Regions from separate parts of the Homo sapiens genome. Here region 2 is linked to region 1. The links are contacts of gene promoters, found by promoter capture Hi-C in blood cells and fetal thymus (Javierre and others, 2016). All regions are on one chromosome and are shown on one strand. Each heading gives the region's core, a stretch centred on a gene start or on the middle of the fragment in contact. The rest is flanking DNA. Distances are from core to core; before and after follow the strand shown. Region 1 holds the start of ITSN2 (intersectin 2). Region 2 overlaps ITSN2 (intersectin 2).

Evidence for each region. The method cuts DNA at HindIII sites, captures the fragments that hold promoters and counts their contacts. A CHiCAGO score of 5 or more calls a contact.
Region 2: a fragment that was not itself captured here is called in contact with the fragment with the promoter of ITSN2 in region 1 in 1 of 17 cell types (endothelial precursors); the score reaches 5.4 in endothelial precursors.

What each region holds. Positions count from the first base shown.
Region 1 is chr2:24,358,846-24,362,654 of GRCh38, forward strand. It overlaps ITSN2 (intersectin 2), which reads right to left and starts at 1,691. Exons shown (of 40, transcript NM_006277.3): 1 at 1,459-1,691. RefSeq lists silencers at 1,105-1,504, 1,515-1,564, 1,575-1,874 and an enhancer at 1,975-2,124. The HindIII fragment of the contact is 2,111 bases long and covers 422-2,532 here.
Region 2 is chr2:24,265,174-24,269,094 of GRCh38, forward strand. All of the region lies in intron 20 of ITSN2 (intersectin 2), which reads right to left. Among named protein-coding and RNA genes, the nearest start is that of FAM228A, 92 kb to the left of the region's middle. The HindIII fragment of the contact is 1,484 bases long and covers 1,201-2,684 here.

The DNA.
Region 1 (3,809 bases), core at 441-2,940:
AACTCCCTGCTTAGTAATTCTGTACAGGTCAAGTTTTCTTGGACGAGTTTACCTTTCATTACAAAGGTGGGCACAGGGAATAGTTATCAATGCATGGAAGGGTGAAAAAATGCAAGCTTTTCAACTGCTTATTAATATTACATCAAAATAGCAGCAATGCACATTTTTTCCACGTTTTCAAAAACATAAAATACATCCACTTTATTTACTTTTGAAATTACAAGAGAGTCACAGGCACAGCCAAAAAAAGCTAAAGGAAAACACATCAGAGTTGTCAGTATCTTTAAATTTGGAAGGACGTCATTATTAATTCGCGTAAATGTTTTATGCGATGTTTCTAGGTAGCTTTTAGGTTTTATCACTGATTAACAATATAGCAAACCAGCACAGGGAGAGAGGCAATTTTTCGAAACGCTTAAGAAGCTTTAAACTACAAGAGCTATGCTACCTAAACTGAGCTCACTAACAACGTAAAATTTCAAGTCACACCTTGCCTATTTCTGAGTAAGCAAGCAAACACTAGTGAGACAAACTAGAAGCATGGAGCAAAGCAAGTCATTTCTATGCTAACCTTAATTCCTATCGTAAAGGGGTTGGCTCCATCAAAAAATATTCCTATTTCAGTATTAACACAAGTTTCAAATAAAGCACACTTGCCATTGGTAATTCTAGAGCGACAAGGCGCATAATTAATAAATCCAAACGGAGCATCTTTCTATAGAATACAAAGCCATCTGCAGTTTCAGCCTCGGTTTACCCACTCACTATGCATATGCAGACGTCTTTAAAAATAAATAAATAAATACACAAATAAACTTTATCTGGCCTGAGAGATTACATCTCTCGGTGCTTCCTGTATATTCTGGAAGTCAATAACGCTGAAGGTAAATTTAACATTTCCAACTCCGGAGGAACGCGAGCGGTAGACGCCAAGCATCCGCCCACTGTCCTCTCGTGACTCGGGCTACTTTGACGCACCGGGATGCGGCTCACCTGACATTCGGCACCAACCCTTGCCAGGAAGGAAAACCAACTCCGCGAAAATAAAATGGGTCCCCGAGGAGGCGTGCGGGTGCCCCCAGAGCTCTCTTCTGCTCACACCCCGAAAGCGAGGGGGCCACGCCACCCCCGACCCTCGCCGGCGTCCGCCACCTGCCAGACGAGGCCGCGGCCAGGGACCCGGGCTCGGCCGCAAGGAAGGGGCAGCCCAGCCCAGGCCCCCTCGGCGTCTGTCCCGGCCCGGCAGCAGAGGAAGGAACCCGGGGCCGGAGGTTTCCGCCCCGCACGGCCGAGCCCGCCAGGGGCCTAGCTCGGGGGCCGCCCGTACTCCCGAGGACCCGTCCCCATCGTGCGGAGCGCACAGCCGCCTCAGCCCGACCCGCAGAGCCTCCGGGCAGCGGGCGCGGCGCCCGCACCTGCCCCGCGCCTTGCTGCAGCCCCGCTAGCGGCTTCACCCACCTGGCGCCCTCGCCGCGCCTCCCGCTCGTCACAGCGCGACTCCGCGTCCCTCAGCACCGGCAGCCTGGGCGCGGGCAGGCGCGGGGAGACCCTGCTCTGCCGCCGTCGCCGCCACTGCAGCTGGCTTGGTCGTCAGGCCGCCGCCCGCGAACCTGTTGCGTAGCCTGTCACAGCCGCTCAGGGCTCCGCCGGCGCCGCCTCAGCCCCACAACAACATGGCGGCCGCGGCCTCCGCAGGAAGCCGGGGGGCGGGGAGGTAGGCGCCGGGCCGGGCAGCTGACGGCCCGCCCGCTGCCGGGCACCGACTCCCCACCCTCCGGAGCCCGAAACTGCCCGGGCGTGGCTCCTCGCCCCAGGAGTTCCGGGGCATTGAACCCTGAAGGTCTGCTCCGAGTCGGTCGGGTCCGAAGCGCTCCTCTCTGCCCTCGGGGAGGCCCCGAAGCCCCAGACCTGGCAGCCCTTCCTGGAGTTGCACAGACCCACCTGGCTCCTCCTCCCCGAGGTAACATGCTGAGCTTGGGTGGTGCTTTTCCTGCCACGGCAGACGCCGGGGTTTTGGAAAGTCCCAAGCAGTGCCTGCCACATCCCTGTTGCACCCACCACGGGGTTCTCCCTGGAACCTTCTCACTCGCCGAAGTTTTCTCCACTGATCTGGGGGAACGAATTCTCTGGGAATTGGGGGGTGGAAGGTGGGAAGGAGGTTGATCCCACCCTTGCCCATGGGTCTGTTACAGGCCTCTTGAACCCTTCTCAGGGACCTGGAGGACTTAACCATACCCTCGGTCATCCATTCACCATTCCTCGCCCTCCTCCATAACACACGCGGAGCGCCCACGAGGAGCACCCTCTACGCTAGTCACACTCCGCCGAGCAGTAGGAAGACTCTGTCCCCATAGAGCATAGCACGACGAAGCTAAACTTTCCTCCCCACCCCTCGCCAAGGGACAGGCGAAGCTCCTACTCAGAATTTGTCTCTTTTCTCCCCTCCCGGTTCCTGGTCTCCTCACAAAAGACCAGACTTCAACTCAAGCCGCCACCGTATCCCAAAACCCCAAAGGTTTGCCCTTGACAAGAAGCTTCTTCAAGGGGAAAGGCTTTCTTTTGATTGGGGTGAGGGAGGAGTTAGTGTTTCCTAATGAACGTAACCAAATGTCGGCCTGGCACAGTGGCTCACGCTTGTAACCCCGGCACTTTGGGAGGCCGAGGCAGGTGGATCATCTGAGGTCAGGAGTTGGAGACCAGCCTGGCCAACATGGTGAAACCCCGCCTCTTCTAACAATACAAAAATTAGCTGGGCGTGGTGGCGGGCGCCTGTAGTCCCAGCTACTCGGAAGGCTGAGGCAGGAGAATCGCTTGAACCTGGGAGGCGGAGGTTGCAGTGAGCAGAGATTGCACCACTGTACTCCAGCCTGGGCGACAAGAGCGAAACTCTGTCTCAAAAAAAAAAAAGTAACCAAATGTAAGACTCAAGATTTTTGGATATAAGACCCAAGATTTCTTTTTTTTTTTTTTTTTTTTTTTTTTTTTTTCCTGAGACAGACTCTCACTCCGTTGCCCAGGCTGGAGTGCAGTGGCGCAACTGTGAGATCTGTGCTCACTGCAACCTCCGCCTCCCAGGTTCAAGCAATTCTCCTGCCTCAGCCTTCCAAGTACCTGGGATTACAGGCACTTGCCACCACGCCCGGCTAATTTTTGTATTTTTAGTAGACACTGGTTTCACCATGTTGGCCAGGCTGGTCTCAAACTCCTGACCTCAGGTGATCCACCCGCCTCATCCTCCCAAAGTGCTGGGATTGGCGTGAGCCACCACGCCCGGCCAAGACCCAAGATTTATTTTGGCTTTTAGAAGCAGGGTGAGGGCTGGTCTGGGGTCCAAAACTCATATCCCTTGATTTGATCTGTGTAGATCAAATAACCCCTGGCATCCTTTCATTCCTTACCTGTTGAGGCAGGTGAAGGTGAGATGGCTCCAAACCCAGGCCTATCTGAACTGGCCAGCCAGCTTAGGAGGAATTTACCAAACATCGATGATGATAAACAGGCTTTTCCCGCTCTCACACTCAGTGTTTTTCCTAACTCTTCGATTAGAACCTGACCAAGACCTGACAGACAGGTCCTGAGCTTCAGTGACACAGAGAAGCCTGACTCTTTTATCAGTCTAGGAGGCCCCTCACTTGCTGGGGACCAGCCAATCTGTCCTTATCTGCAAACAAACCACCCAGGCCAAGGATAGCAATCTTGAGCACGTGGCCTCATTCCCATTGCACCCTTCACCAGTTAACTGATATGCTCTTTTGGAGCCCATATTTGAGAGTCAAAGCCCCAGAATCCTTCACAACATAGTGCTCCAG
Region 2 (3,921 bases), core at 693-3,192, 93 kb before region 1:
TTGTTTACACAGGACTTAAGAGAAGAACTGACTTCTTATCAATACTGAATCTTCCAATCCATGAACACTATATATCTTTCCATTTATTTCGGACTTCAATTTTTCTCAATAAAACTTTGTAACTTTCAATAAACAGGTCTTGCAAATCTTTTATCAGTTTTATCTGTATTTCATATTTTTATGCAATTGTAAATGGTATTTTAAATTTCAATTTCTGAATAGTCATCGTTTCTATACAGAACTACAACTGATTTTGTTATATTGATCTTGTATTCTGCAACCTTGCTAAACTCATTTAAATAGTTCTAGTAGCTTAATAGATTCTATGGGACTTTTTACATAGATTATCATGTCTTCTGCAAATCAATACAGTCTGTCTTCTCCTTTTCCAATCTTGATGCCTTTTACTCTATGGTAAGCCACTTTAGACCCATTAGGATTTTTCTCCTAGCAGATGTTGTCTCTCTAGTTTAAAGCTCTTAAAAGTTCAAACTTCTTAGTGTAGAATTTGAATACTCTGAAATTACAGTTTCTTTGTCAGGTTTCAACTTACCTTTCTAGCTTCATCTCTTACCATTTGTTCGATATTCTAGGCAAATAGTTATATGACATTCTTTAAAAACACCTGGCACATGCAAGCCTCAATGTTTTTATTTAAGGTATTCTCTTCTGCCCAGAATATTACATGGTTTAGAGGAAATACTACAGACTTGAGAGTTAAAAGAACCACATTTCAGTCTTAGCCATGCTACCTGGTTATCCTTCGTTAAGATAATGAATGCTATCTTGTGTGCTTTGTCATCTACAAATTTGGGGGGAAATACCTGTGCTGCCCTCCTCTAGGGTATCTTTCAGAATTAAATTGAGTATATTTATGAAGGCGCTTTGGAAACTGTAAAGCACTAAGCAAATATAAGGCATAATCCTTCAAGGCCTTCCTCCATCCTATCCTTGGGAAAAATGTTCCCCAATTCTATTTGGTTGTTTTTCCTTCATTCTCTGGGTTCCCACAGTACTTACTCATATAAATTAGTATTGAAATTTATCATGTTATATTTTGTACAGTAATACACATTTCTTTTTTTTCCTAGACTGTGGTCTCCTTATTCATTTTTGTATGTCACCAGAGGCACATGGTTACAAACTCAACAAATGTTAACTTGAATGGATTATTCTAAATTTGATTAACAATAGACTTAAAGCTTAATTAGTAATAAATGGATTATTAGGGCAACTTCATTTATGTTTATGGTAAATAATTCTCATTTTAATGTTATATGTCTGGCTATTTATTACATCATGAATGAAATATTTAGAAAACTCCTAAACCAGAGCTGCTATGGCTAAACTGTATGATGTCACAGTAATGTAGCTCCCATAAAATGGTGTTCTAAAATAGTTAGAATGAAAGCAAACACTTATGAAATATTATCCTGTAAATCTAGTTTAAGACTAGTTTAAAATAGTTAAGTCTGCCAGGCACGGTGGTTCATGCCTGTAATCACAGCACTTTGGGAAGCCAAGGTAAGAGGGTTGCTTGAGGCCAGGAGTTTGAGACAAGCGTAGGCAACATAGTGAGAAACTCCATCTCCACAAAAAAAAAAAAAAAAAAAAATAGCCAGGTGTGGTGGTGTGTGCCTGTAGTCTCCACTACTCAAGAGGTTGAGGTGGGAGGATGGCGTGAGCTCGGGTGGTCGAGGCTGTAGTGAGCCATGATCCCGCCACTGCACTCCAGCCTGGGTAACAGATTGAGACCCAGTTTCAAAAATAAATAAATAAATAAAATAAAATAGCTAAGCCAGAGCAATATAAATTCAGACAAGAATACAATAAACCCTGAGGAATTACACAAACCAAAGTATTTCAATGCTGCAAAATGCTCAGCATTGTACCTGATTTAAATGTATTGTCTTGGACATGGATGACGCTGAAAACCATCATTCCCAGCAAACTAACACAGAAACAGAAAACCAAACACCACATGTTCTCACTCACAAGTGGGAGTTGAACAATGAGAACACATGGACACAGGGAGGGGAACATCACACAGCGGGACCTGTCAGGGGGTGGGGGACTAGGGGAGGAAAGCATTAGGAGAAATACCTAACGTAGATGACAGGTTGATGGGTGCAGCAAACCACCATGGCACATGTATACCTATGTAACAAACCTGCACGTTCTGCACATGTATCCCAGAACTTAAAGTATAAAAAAAAAAAAAAAGTATGGTCTTAAGGAAAGGAATCACCGTAAGCTATGAGTATTGGCTATATATAGGTACACATATGTACATACATACATACACACACACACATTTACCACATTTACTTACATGCCCTTCCTACTTTCCTTTCTACCTCCCTTCACTGACGGACTTGGCTGGCTGGCTGACTTTTCAGACAGGGTCTTACTCTGTCACCCAGGCTACTAGAGTGCAGTGGTGCAATCACAGCTCACTGTAGCCTTGACCTCCTGGGCTCAAGTGATTCTGCCACCTCAGTCTCCACAGCAGGTGGGACTACAGGTGCACACCACCAAGCCCCGCTAATTTTTTTTTACTTTTTGTAGAAACAGGGTCTTCCTATGTTGCCCAGGCTGGTCTCTAACGCCAGTACCTACGTGATACTCCTGCCTCGGCCTCTCAAAGTGCTGGGATTATGGGTGTGCACCTGCACCTGGCCAAAAGCTTTTAAAAGTATTAATTTCTAGATACACTTTTTCCTAGTGTTTTCAACCTAATCAAGAAGAAAAATCTCGTTCATTTATTCTGTAGTTAGGCCAAGTTGTTTTAGTAAGAGGTCAATTTTAATCTCTTTCACATCTGTCATTTATAGTTGTAATTAATTTTTAGTTGTTAATTTACATACTGAGTTAAACTGAACATTTTATATAAATTCTCACAGGCCTAGCAAAACTACTTATTACTTCTTCTTAACTACTTATTAATTAATGTTAGCAAAATAGCATTAACAGATTAGAAGGCTAGAAAAACATTTCAGCTTGTCATCGAAAATGTGGCCAAGACTCAGTGGAATTTCTAATCCTTTTCACTTTCAATGAAACCTCCGGTAACACCCTCATCCATTAAGTTGATCAGACCTTGCCTCCTATCTTACCGGGAATTTGGAAGTCCTGGGACCTGACTTCATCTTCTACTTCAGCAAAATTTACTTTAATCCCTCCCACCCTTTCTTCCTGCCCTCTAATGACAAAGGATAAGGTATTCAATCCTTCTACCACTCTCTTCCAGGGCTCCAGATTCCAGCCTTCTAGCCTTTTCAAGAATCTTCCTCATCTCCATCTATTAGTCAGAACAGGGAGGTTTGACAAGGAACATGAAGTGCCTTCCTGATGCTGTACGTTCTACACACTGATCTGAGGGGGGCTTCACAGATACACAGATGTGTACACATTCTTTGAGCTGTATACTTATGGTTGTACACTTTGCTATATATAAATTATACTTTAATAAGAAAAAACAATCTTTATCAGTTATTTATACTCTTTCCATTATCATTAACCTGTTTCCTCTCTGCAGATCCTTTCTACTATTATTTAAACTTGCTCAAGCTTCAGCCAACTTTAAAAAAAAAAAAAACTTCCCTCAACCCACATTTCTCATTATTTACTACCTTCTCTCCTTCTCCCTTTCAAAGCCAAGCTCATTCAAAGAGTTTTATATATTCACTGTCTCCTCTTCCTCTCTTCCAATTTATTCCAACTCACTGAAATCTGGCTTCTCGCTCTACTAGTCCACTTAACTGATACTGCTGTCCTCAAGTTAACAACACCTGTGCTATTGCTAATCTAATAATTTTTTTAGTCCTTGTTTTATTTCACTTGCAGATCACTCTTCTCAAAGTTCCCTAACATTAAACTCTCCTGTTTTTTTTTTTTTCCTACTACTAGTCACTCCTTTTA